Linked DNA regions of Homo sapiens: region 1 is linked to region 2. The links are contacts of gene promoters, found by promoter capture Hi-C in blood cells and fetal thymus (Javierre and others, 2016). All regions are on one chromosome and are shown on one strand. Each heading gives the region's core, a stretch centred on a gene start or on the middle of the fragment in contact. The rest is flanking DNA. Distances are from core to core; before and after follow the strand shown. Region 1 overlaps PRKCD (protein kinase C delta). Region 2 holds the start of RFT1 (RFT1 glycolipid translocator homolog).

Region 1 (5,628 bases), core at 1,571-4,070, 39 kb before region 2:
GCAGTCACGGCAGGGCAAGGGGGCCGGGCATGGTGGAGCTGCCAGGTTGGGTAGGCAGGTGGGTGGTAGCTGGGCTGGGAGGCTGGCTGCCTAGATGGCCTTCCCAGCGGAAACAAGGCAAGGAGGCCATGCAGGTTTCACAACCCAGGAAGTGGGCTCAGCAAGAGGAACAGGAGGTGGGAGGGGAAAGGCTAGCAAGACCCTTTAGGGTTCCTCCACCAGGGCCCATCCCCCAGCCTCCACATGCCCAGCCCTGTGCTGAGATAAGAACCAGATCTATGGACTCAGGTCACAGCCAAGTCCCAGAGCAGGGATGCTCCCCATACCTGCTCCTCCCAGGACAGGTACCTCATCCCCCAGCCAGCGCTCCTCCTGGGCCCCTCCCTCACCCCACACAGACCAACCAGTACCTGTGGCCTCTCCTCCCCTTACCCAGCTCCCTCCCGGTTGTCACCATCTCTGGTCCCTCCCCTACCCATTCTTCCCACAGCTGGGAACCTCCTAGGCTCTCACTGCCCCTGGAGAAAGCCCAGACCTCTCCAGGCCTTCCAGACTGCCCACTCCCTGGCCCTGTCCTGCTCTCTACCTCAATCCCTGTTCTGGCTACTCTGTGAACATATGTCTCATTTCCCAGCCCCCATATTTTTGCAGATGTTGTTCCCTCAGCTGGAACAGCCTTCTGAATTCCCACAGATCCTTCCAGGCAGCTCAGAAGGCTGGCCCTGGGGGACCCTTCCCACCTCTCAGGAAGCTAGCTGCTTTCCCACTGGTAACCTCTGCCACACCAGGCCCATGGAACTTACAGCCTGGTGGGAGCCAGTCACATAAATATGTGATTACAAAGGATGGTAAGACCTCTGTAGGATGCGCCACGCAGGCAGTGAGTAGCAGGGAGTGAGGGGGGCTGGAGGAGAACGGAGGCTGCAGGGACCTGTTGGCTGGGGGCCTTCGATCTGAGGGGTCAGCAGGAGCATAATGGCCTGCCCTGCCAGAGGGTCTGGAAGGTTCAGAGGGGCAGGACTTGGGAGCCTGGCTGTCATCGGCTCACATCCACCTCTGCCAGCTTGTGTGGGGTAGGGCCTCCTTGGAGGGAGGCCACCAGGCACAGGCCTCGAGTCACCAGCCAGCCCTAGGATATGAGGAGTCCTGGGCTCAGTCAGAGGGCGGTGCCCCAGGTACCCCTGAGAGAGGAACAAAGGCCCCTTCATGGCAGGAGCCAGAGAGCCAGATCCTGTGAGGACAAGGGGCCTCTGTGAGGAGCCAGGGTGGGGGATGCAGCCGGGCCTCTCCACGAATAACCACACGTGTGCACACAGGCACACTCGCCAACCCAAACAGCACATAGGGAGCCCCACTCGACATTAGACACACACGCACACAGTTGGAGCCACAGGTACGTACACACACTGCTGTGATGACACAGGGGCACACGTACACACACACACACACACACACAGAAACACACATGCACTCACCGGCTCTCACATCTCAACAGATACCCGGGCCCACACAGACCACACCCGACCACATAGGCTCCACACGCACGTGGAGTGCCACAAGCTGTGATGTACACACTGGCACAGAGATGCTCCAGGCAGACACAGAAACAAACATACAGTCCTGGAAGGACCCCACATCCCTGACTAGAGTCTGGCACCATGAAGTCCAAATGCAGCTTTTTCCACCACAGCCCCCAGGCACAATGGCTGGGGAATGGAGGAGGGGCAGAAGGGCAGCTGGTGTCAGGCTAGGCTGGGCCTTTCCACCCAGGGAGACGAAGAAAGTCCCTCTTGATCCAGAGCAAAGTCTAAAGTGTGTAAGGGAAGGAGTGGGCTGGTCAGGCACATCACTGGGCAGGCCTCCGCCCGCCCGCCCACCTGCCTGCAGGGCCCTGAGGCTATGGTGGAGGTTGAAGGTCACAGGTGGCAGTCACAGGCCTGGCGCGCAGGGGGAGGGGAGGGCTTGAACCTATGTTGGTAGGGCAGCAAGCCGGGCACCCCAGGAGCAAGTTCCTTGAGCTCCAGGCTCACTGTGCAGAAACCGAAAGAGAGGTTGAGCAATTCAACCAAAGCCACAAAGCCAATGGGGCAGACCCAGGGGGAAGTGGGGAGAGAACTTCCAGCTCTAGTCCTAGAACTGCCCATCTGGCCTCCAATGGGGTGAGGGTATGTGTTTGGAGATGGGAACAGCTCCTCCATCAGCCCCCAGTACAAGAGCCCTACTCCTTAGCCCTTCTTTCTCCCACAGAGTTCCCACGATTTTCCAGATGGTTTACCATTGGAAACAATCGTTTTGTGTTTGGGAGAAGGCAAGATGGCCACCTAACCCTTTTGCCAGTCATCCCCAGGATCTGGGCAGGATCCACATGATGCTTCCCCACTTTGGGGATATTGAGAAAGCTGGGAGAGAGGCAGGACCATCCCGCATGGTGCGCCATCCCACAGCAGGCAGCGGACAGAGGAACCGGCGAGCTTGGACCTAGACAGGCCTAGCTCAGATCTGCTGCCTGGGTGCTCCGCGATCTTGGCCCAAGTGCTCTGGTGTCTTCCAGACTTCCTTGGAAAGTGGGAAAAGAGGCTCTGTTAAGCCCCCCAGCCGCAGGGTGCCCTGTTCTGGCCTGAGGCTCTGGGCAGAACTGGGCTGAAGCAGGCAGCATGAGTCCACTGGCAGAGGCTGGCCAGCTACTGCCCCTCCCGGGGCTCCAGCCTCCCTGTCTCAACAATGGAGACCTCTAAGCTTTCTCCAGCCCTGACACTGGAGGACCCTGGGATCCTCCTCCCACCCCAACAACCCCAGCCCACAACCTACACCACGCAGACATCTGATCTAGCCTCAGGCCTTGGCGACTGCCTGCTCTGCTCTGCCTGTTTACCCAACACGGCCATAGACATGATCCAAAGCTTCCGGAGCTGTTGTGAAAACAGCGGCTCAGCCACCACAAGCCTGCCCTCCTGGGTGCCTTGGCAGAGACCTTTGAGGGACAGCCATCCCAGTCCTGTTCGTGGGCCTCTCAAATGCTCCCCCACCCCTTAGAAGGCCTGTTGAGCCCTCTCCTCCCCAATCCTGGCTTTAGGCTCCCGTCTCTACTTTGGGCCCAGACCCTCCTGAACTTCAGGCTTGTGGCCCCACCTGCCTCCCTGGCTTCACCACATGAATGACTCCAGAAGAGCTCAAGCCTGCCCACACCAGTCCCCCGCCGTTCCCCTCCCAGCGCTCCTCATCCACTAGGAGTGCACGAGCTCAGGCAGTGGCTCAGGCCAGACAGCTCCCCCTGCTCCCCACACAATAAGGCCATCCCGTCTGCCGCTGCAGCCTGTCCTCAAGTCTCAAATCCTCTTCTCCCACCACCACCATCCCCAGGCTCTGCACCTGTCTTCTGACTGCTCTCCATCCTCTACCCCGGCCCGACAGTCCCCCTGTTCCAGCCACCAGACGGGGCTTTTCAGACAGATTTTGTCACCCCCTGCCCAAGCCCCCAGTGCCTCCCATTGCCCCTCTGACAAGCCCAGACTCCTCCCCTCAGCCTGCTCCATGCAGCCTGCCCCCCGCCACCCCCCTCCCCATCACCGTTACCTCCCTGACCTCTCGGGCAGGCGCTGCCTTTCCCTCATTCCTGTGCCCCAGCCACGCTGACCCCTTTCAGTTCCCGAAGCAGCCAGTTCCTTCCCGCTTAGGAGCCTCTGGGCTTGCTGTTCCGTCTTCCTGCTCCACCCCACCCCACACAGTGGCTCCTTCCCATCGTTCATGTCTCACAGGACACCACACCCCGTGATCTGCCCATTTCACAGACGAGGCAAGTGGGGAACGGTCCAGTCCCTGGCTCAAGTGTGCACAGCCAGTAAATATTGAGCAAGGATTCAACCAGGGTCTGTCTGATGCCTGCAGAAGTCCTGCTCCTAAGCCTTCAGGATACCCTCAACCACACTTCCCGCCCAGGCCCATCCACCTTTCGCTCTCCAGCCCTCAGGCCCCTGCTGTTTGCATCACTGTCCTTACCACTCCTCAACACTCCTCATCCCCAGCCTCTGGGCCCCACACAGTGAAGGCCAATGCTTAGCCCAACCCTAACTGTGCTGACCTTCTTCGTGTCCCTGGGACAGGCTGGGCCCTGCCCCCAGCTGCCATGGGTGTAGGGGGTTTTCTAGCTCCCCCTACTCTTCTAGCTTCCATCAGTCCCAGATGCCCACTCCCTGCCCCAGCCCACAGGCTGACTCCAGGGGTCTGAAGGGTAAGCAGGCTGGCAGGAGGGCTTACGTCCACCCCCTCGTTCCCAGCCAATTCTCCCAGCCTAATGTCCTGCAGGAGGCCAGAGCTGGAGAGGGCCAAGGGGAGCCCTGAGGGGGCAGCAGGCAGCTGCAGACTGCCTTTCCCCTCCCTGCATCCATTTGTCACGAGATCTATTTTCTCCCTTTGAAAGGGAGTGAGGGGGAGAAGAGCAGGCAGGGGCTGGACTGCTGAGTGGGTGGAGCTGCTCCAACAGGAGCTCCTCTCCTCGGAGGGCATGGAACCTACTGAACAAGTAGGGCACTGCCACTGGAGGTAGAATTGAGGGGGATGAGGGAGTCAGAGACCTGGCTCCTCAGCCAGGCTCCACAGCCACCTGGCCATGTAACACTGGGCCAGTGCCCAGCCCATCAGATAATAATACCCCCTCATCAGTCCCACTTGCTATTTTTTGAATAGTTCCCATGAACTGGGCTCTAAATGCTTTACATAACTACAGTTTCTACTCATTCAACTCTGACAATGCACTAAGCACGATGCCAGCTACTTTGCATATGTTATCTGTCATTTCCGCACAACCTCATCAAGATGGATGCTATCATTATCTCATCTGTCAGGGGGAGACTGAGGCACTGAGCGGCAGAGCCACTTGCCCAGGTTCATTCATAGAGCTGCTGGGAGCTGCCTAGTCACTAAGATGCAGCCCAGCCATCACCTCTCTCAAGGGGGCCATGCCTACCAGAGTTGATGCTCTTGAGCCTCGGCTTACAGGCTCAGAGCAAGAAAGGAGCCACGGTTGTGGGGACTGCAGGGGACTTCGTGACCTGCCCCCTGCCCTTCTCCTAGAGCCCCCCAAAAAGGCCTGGGCAGCCCTGGCAGTGAAAAGCCTGGTCAGTCAGCCTAACCCGGTGGCCAGACGCTGCTCCCCTGGGCAGGCAAGGCAGGGGCGGAGCAAGGCGTAGAGCCACTGACAGAGGGCTGGTCAGTCCCACTCCAAAACCACTTCCTGGGCAGCTCAGAGGAAGTAAGCCTCCGGAAACGCCTTGAACAGATGGGCCTCTCTCCTAGGCCCAGGCTTTGGGAAGTGAACAGACAGCCCCTGCCAACCTCTCAGTCCCTAGAGCCCAGCAACTCCACTCCCTCTAGGCATGGACACCGTGGGGGACACAGGAGTTGATAGGACCCCCACCCACTGTGAGCACCTTGGCCCCATGGCCAGACAGCCTACTTCCTCTGCTGTAGCAGCAGGCACACAGTGCTGGCACAGCTGACACAGCCTCTCCCCCGCATTCATGCCTCCCATCTCCCATGCCAATCCCTGGTCGGCCTGGAGCCTGGGGCCAGGTGGGCAGGGTGGCTGCTGAATGCATGGGCAGAGCCCACCTACCAGGGTGGCCCAGCCCC
Region 2 (5,560 bases), core at 835-3,334:
AGCTCACATTCTTGGGCAGGGTGCAGTGCGGTGGCTCATGCCTGTAATCTCGGCACTTTGAGAAGCTGAGGTGGGCGGATCACTTGAGTCCAGGAGTTGGAGACCAGCCTGAGCAACGTGGGAAAAACCCATCTCTACAAAAATCACAGAAAAAATCAGCCAGGTCTGGTGCTGCACGCCTGTAGTCCCAGCTAATCGGAAGGCTGAGGTGGGAGGATTACCTGAGGCCAGGAGGTGGAAGCGGCAGTGAACCAAGACTGTACCACTGCACCCTAGCCTGGGAGACAGAGCGAGACCCTGTCTCAAAAAAAAAAAAGAAAAGAAAAGAAAAGAAAAGAAAAGAAAAAGAAAAGCTCACATTCTGGGCCTCCACACTAAGACAGAGCTCATTTCACCTGGGAAGATGGGAGTGATAGGCTTTGAGTTCCACAGTCTGTTTCCAGCAGCAGTAGCAGCAGTCATGTGTCAGGAGACATTTATAGGAGCCCTAAGAATGTTCTGTACCGCTACTTCAGGAAGCAAAACCAGGCAGGCTGCACTTCTGCCCTCTTGGAGCTCATGGGCTGATTATATAGAGACACATATTCTAGTCTTTCTGCTATAATGCAGATTGCATTAGGAACTATAAAGGGGTACAGAGTATTTTAGGGGTACTGTCTTGATTTGCTTGGGCTGCTGTAACAAAATACCATAGACTGGGTAAGTCAAAAACAGAAATTTCTCTCACAGCTCTGGAGGCTGGAAGCCCAAGATCAAGGTGCTAGCCAGTTTGGTTCCTGTTAAGTGTATGTTGGGCGCCTTACATTTTACAAAGCCTTCTTCGTGGTTGCAGACAGCTACATTCTTGCTGTATCCTCAAATAGTAAACACAGAGATCATTTTTCTGACATCTCTTTTTATAAGGACATGAATCCCATTATGACGGCTCCACTTTCAGGACCTAATTACTTCCCAAAGGCCTTACCTCCTAATACTATCACACTGGGGATTAGGCTTCAACATATGAATTTTGAGGGTACACAAACATTTAGTCCACAGCAGGTACCAGCTGTGGTTGGCCAGGAAAGTCAGGACAGTGTGGTCTAGGAGGGCAAGGGGTGCTGTCAGGGAAGACACTTTGGACAAAGAGGGTGGAGGAGCAAAGGCCAGTGAGTCACCGCCTGTTTGAGGACCAGTAAGGACTCGGAATGGCTATGGCCTAGATAGTGTTGGGAAGGGCAATGATCGTGTGAAAGGTAGTAGAAGATAGGTTGGGGCCAAATCATGTGAGGACTGAAAGAGATTGGGGAAAGACTGGGCTTCCTACAGCCTGCTTGGTAGATAATAAGAACACTGACAGAACAGCAGCTGATTGTGTATGTTGGGCGCTTTACATTTTTTTACAAAGCACTTCCAGTCCTTCTTCCACTCTGCCCTCACAATTTCTAGCATACAGGCAAGAGTGATAAGTTTAGGATCAGGAGCCTGGTATCCACTTAGTCAGGAAACAAGTTGTGTAGATTCGAACAAGTCACTTCCCATCTCCAAGGCTTTACTCATCTCTAACCACAGGGGCCAATTCTCAGAGCTTTCGGAAGGATTTCACAAAACCATACACATAACAGTGCTATATCTAACTTCTGGTCCTCAGTTCTTTCTCTGTTAAATGAGGACAATTCCTGTCCAGCCTAATTCAGAGGGTCTGTGGCTGTGATTCTGTAAGCAAAGGTCAATGGTGAGAATCTTCTTAACGGGCCAGTGAGAAGTTTGTTCCCCTTTTGGCAGATGAGGCCAGGAAAGTTAGTGCTTCTTGGTTGGTGGCTGAAAGCCTCAGAGAAGGAACTTTGGATTCTTTAACGGTATCTCTTAGTACTCGCCACACTATTTCGTTTATACGGGGAAGAGAGGGACAGACAGCGCACAAGCGACAGACAGCGCAAAACCTACCGAAATAGAAAGAGCCAGGCGCCATAACAGACGGCCCGAGACAGGCCCACTTAAAGGACCAGAACTTCTCGTGCCCCGCCCCCCTCTCTCAAGGCCATCAATCAGACAGCGAGGCGCGCCGTGACGCCATCTTATCGCGACTAAACGGAGTGGCGGCGGCATTTCCTGGTGTCTGAGCCTGGCGCGGAGGCTATGGGCAGCCAGGAGGTGCTGGGCCACGCGGCCCGGCTGGCCTCCTCCGGTCTCCTCCTGCAGGTACTCTCTGCCCTTCAGGTTCCAGCTTGTACTGCAGCCGGGATTCGCGGGATGGCAGCCCTTGGGCCCTTGAGAGCCTGCCCCAGGGCCGACCCAGTCCCGAGGTGGACCCCGCAATGGAGGGGGTGGGGGGGTCGACCGGAGACGGTGGCATTGATGAGGGGGGACCCTGGCCCGGAGATAGGAGCCTGCCTTTAGAGTCTAGGCCGGGTGACTGCAGACAAGCCGCTTTCCTTCTGAGCATTCTATTTCCCATATGGCAGTAGGAGTGAATTAGATCAGGTGGCGGGGGTGAGGGACTGGTATTTCGTGCTCGAGAATCTGATATTTTTCAGGCAAGGGGTTCATTTCCTTCATCAAACACCTTCCTCAAACTTTGAGTCCCACTGAGTTCCGAGAGTCCATATGGCATAGCTAAGAAGAGAAATCTGGAGTTAGGCTTGGATTGCTCCGTGACCCAGGACAAGTGACTTCACCTGCAGAGCCTGAGTTCCTCACTAGTAAAATGGGGGTAATAATATGTCGTACTTAGCTCATAAGCAGGGATTGATTGGGATCATTCAAATAAACGTACTTAACACAGTACCCGGCTCTTAGTATGCATTTAATACATGTTGGCTGCATCTTCTGTTTATGTGATCTTGGACAAGTCACTTCCCTTCTTGGCCCTAATTTTTGTCATCTGTCAGGTATGATACAGGCCAGTTAGTCCAAATGGTATCTGAAGATTCTTTCAACCCCAGGAGCTGAACCTCTTAAGTCAAGTGGCTCAGTATCTCTCTGTCTCACTCTTGAGCCAATCAACCCTACTTCACACAAGTCCCGAATCTACCCTACCCCTTATCTTAGAGAGGCACATGGAGGGCAGAAGAAAGAACCAAGCAGAATGGGGCTTGAGTTTGGGCCTTGTCACTTGCTAGATGCCTGCCTTCGGGATAAATCCGATGACTTCTGTATCAGTTTCTTCATCTTAAATGAGAATCATAGTGCAACCTCACAGGGTCATTAGGAAGATTAGATGAAATCATGCCTCTTAAGTGCCTGGCACACTACAAGTACTTAATAAATGTAGCTATTTTTATTAGGGTAATAAGTATTTTTAAAATAGTCAATGTAGGAATGAAATGAGATAACCTATGGAAAGCATGTTGAAGAGTGCCTTGCACGTGATATGTGCTTAGTAAATGTTAGCCATTCTAAGTTTACCTAGGGATTTTTTTTTTCTGTTTCACTACATAAATAACTGAGTTTATTGTTTTATCCACAATGTTGGTTTTTTTTCAGCCTTTGATAATATCTTACTACTCAGATAGGCTTCATAAAACGAAAACAAGTTATAACGGAAAACACACTGGACTACGAGTCAGGTGGCTTACCTGTAAGGTCAAGCTGGGTCATTTACTTGCCGTGTGACAGTGAGGAAATCACTTAACCCTCAGTCTTGCTTCCTGTGCATTTACCTCGTTGTTTTTAGTGTCAAATAATTTAACAGATGTGAGAGAGCCTTTTTGTTAAAACTGTAAAGTTGGCTGGACGCGGTGGCTCATGCCTGTCATCCCAGCACTTTGGGAGGCCAAGGCAGGAGGATTGCTTGAGCTCAGGAGTTGAAGACCAGCCTGGGCAACATGGTGAAACCTTGTCTTTACAAAAAATACAAAAATTAGATGGGCGTGGTGGCATGCACCTGTAGTCCCAGCTACTCAGGAGGCTGAGGTGGGATGATCTCGAGTCTGTGAGGTTGAGGCCTCAGTGAGCTGTGATTATGCCACTGCACTCCAGCCTGAGCAACAGAGTGAGACCCTGTCTTAAAACAAAAGCTGTAAAGTTCTTTGCAGAAGTAAATGAAGGCTGTGTTGCTAATAAGGACTGCAGTGTGTGGCAAATACTGGGTGGCGTAAGCAACCTCAGTTTCATTAGCTGCAACCTTTATTCAAACCAATTAGGAGACATGGATATGGCCTGGAACATTAAGTTTCTTAGACAGTGGTAACTTTGAGGTTAACATAAGTATGTACACATGGTGTTTTGTTTTTTGTTTTCGAGATGGAGTCTCACTCTGTTGCTCAGGCTGGAGTGCAGTGGCACTATCTCGGCTCACTGCAACATCCGCCTCCCGGGCCCAAGAGATTCTCAGGCCTCAGCCTCCCAAGTAGCTGGGATTACAGGTACCTGCCACCACACCTGGCTAATTTTTGTATTTTTAGTAGAGACAGGGTTTCACCATGTTGGACAGGCTGGTCTCGAACTTCTGACCTCAAGTGATCCACCTGCCTCAGCCTCCCGAAGTGCTGGCATTACAGGTGTGAGCTACCGCGCTCGGATTTTTTTTTTAATAACCATATTTTTATATGGTTTCTTGAGTGTTTTCATTCTTGTATGCTTTCTCGAATTACACTGTAGACACTTCAGGTAGCTTTGTGGTTACATTTTATTCTGCAAGAATTTGAGAGCTTGTTCTATCTTAATTCTAAGCCACCTATGCTGAAAGTATTAATGCCTTTCATTTGTATGCACTTAAAAAATGCTTTCACTTCTACAGTCTCATTTCTTTTAAAAATATTTCTTGTAGAGATGAGGTCTCACTGTGTTGCCCAGGCTGGTCTCAAATTCCTGGCTTCAAGTGATCCTCCTACCTTTCAGCCTCCCAAAGTGTTGGGATTTTCTTTTCTTTTTTTTTTTTTTTTTAAGATGGAGTCTAGCTCTGTCGCCCAGGCTTCACGCCATTCTCCTGCCTCAGCCTCCCGAGTAGCTGGGACTTACAGGCACCTGCCACCACACCCAGCTAATTTTTTGTATTTTTAGGAGAGGCGGGGTTTCACCGTGTGAGGCAGGATGGTCTCGATCTCCTGACCTCATGATCCGCCAGCCTCGGCCTTCCAAAGTGCTGGGATTACAGGCATGAGCCACTGCGCCCAGCTAAGTATTGGGATTACAGGCATGAGCCACTGTACCCAGCCCTACAATCTCTTTTGATCCTTTTAATCAACCCTATGTGATAGGTAAACTCATTTGACCGAGGAAATTGAGGCTTATAACAATTAGAAGATAACAGATAGAAGAGCTAAATGGTGAATTGTATTTTTAGTAGAGACGGCATTTCACCATGTTAGTCAGGCAGGTCTCGAACTCCTGACCTCAGTTGATCCACCCGCCTCGGCCTCCCAAAGTGCTGGGATTACAGGCATGAGCCACCATGCCCAGCCATATCTGCATGTTTCTAAGGAGCAGCTACAGAGCTGTCATCAGACTCAAAAGACCACCTTTGACTCCATAACGGTTAAGATGGTGATTTCTTGGCTTTGGAGACCTTGCTGCTCTGTGATACTTTAGGTACAGTGTTACACAATGTCCCTTTTTGGTCATAGCTGTCCCCAGAGAT

What was found. Contacts are between HindIII fragments. The CHiCAGO score rates a contact against its expected background, and 5 or more counts as called.
Region 1: a fragment that was not itself captured here is called in contact with the fragment with the promoter of RFT1 in region 2 in 12 of 17 cell types (M1 macrophages, M0 macrophages, megakaryocytes and 9 more); the score reaches 14.2 in M1 macrophages.

The regions. Positions count from the first base shown.
Region 1 is chr3:53,166,766-53,172,393 of GRCh38, reverse strand. The region is part of intron 2 of PRKCD (protein kinase C delta); the gene reads right to left. Among named protein-coding and RNA genes, the nearest start is that of PRKCD, 8.4 kb to the right of the region's middle. RefSeq lists a silencer at 2,073-2,122 and enhancers at 3,319-3,999, 4,000-4,680, 4,796-4,865, 4,876-4,985. The HindIII fragment of the contact is 164 bases long and covers 2,739-2,902 here.
Region 2 is chr3:53,126,959-53,132,518 of GRCh38, reverse strand. RFT1 (RFT1 glycolipid translocator homolog) reads left to right here and starts at 2,084. Exons shown (of 13, transcript NM_052859.4): 1 at 2,084-2,181. The coding sequence starts at 2,119. RefSeq lists enhancers at 1,679-1,728, 1,739-1,938, 1,979-2,028, 2,039-2,228. The HindIII fragment of the contact is 8,425 bases long and covers 1-5,560 here.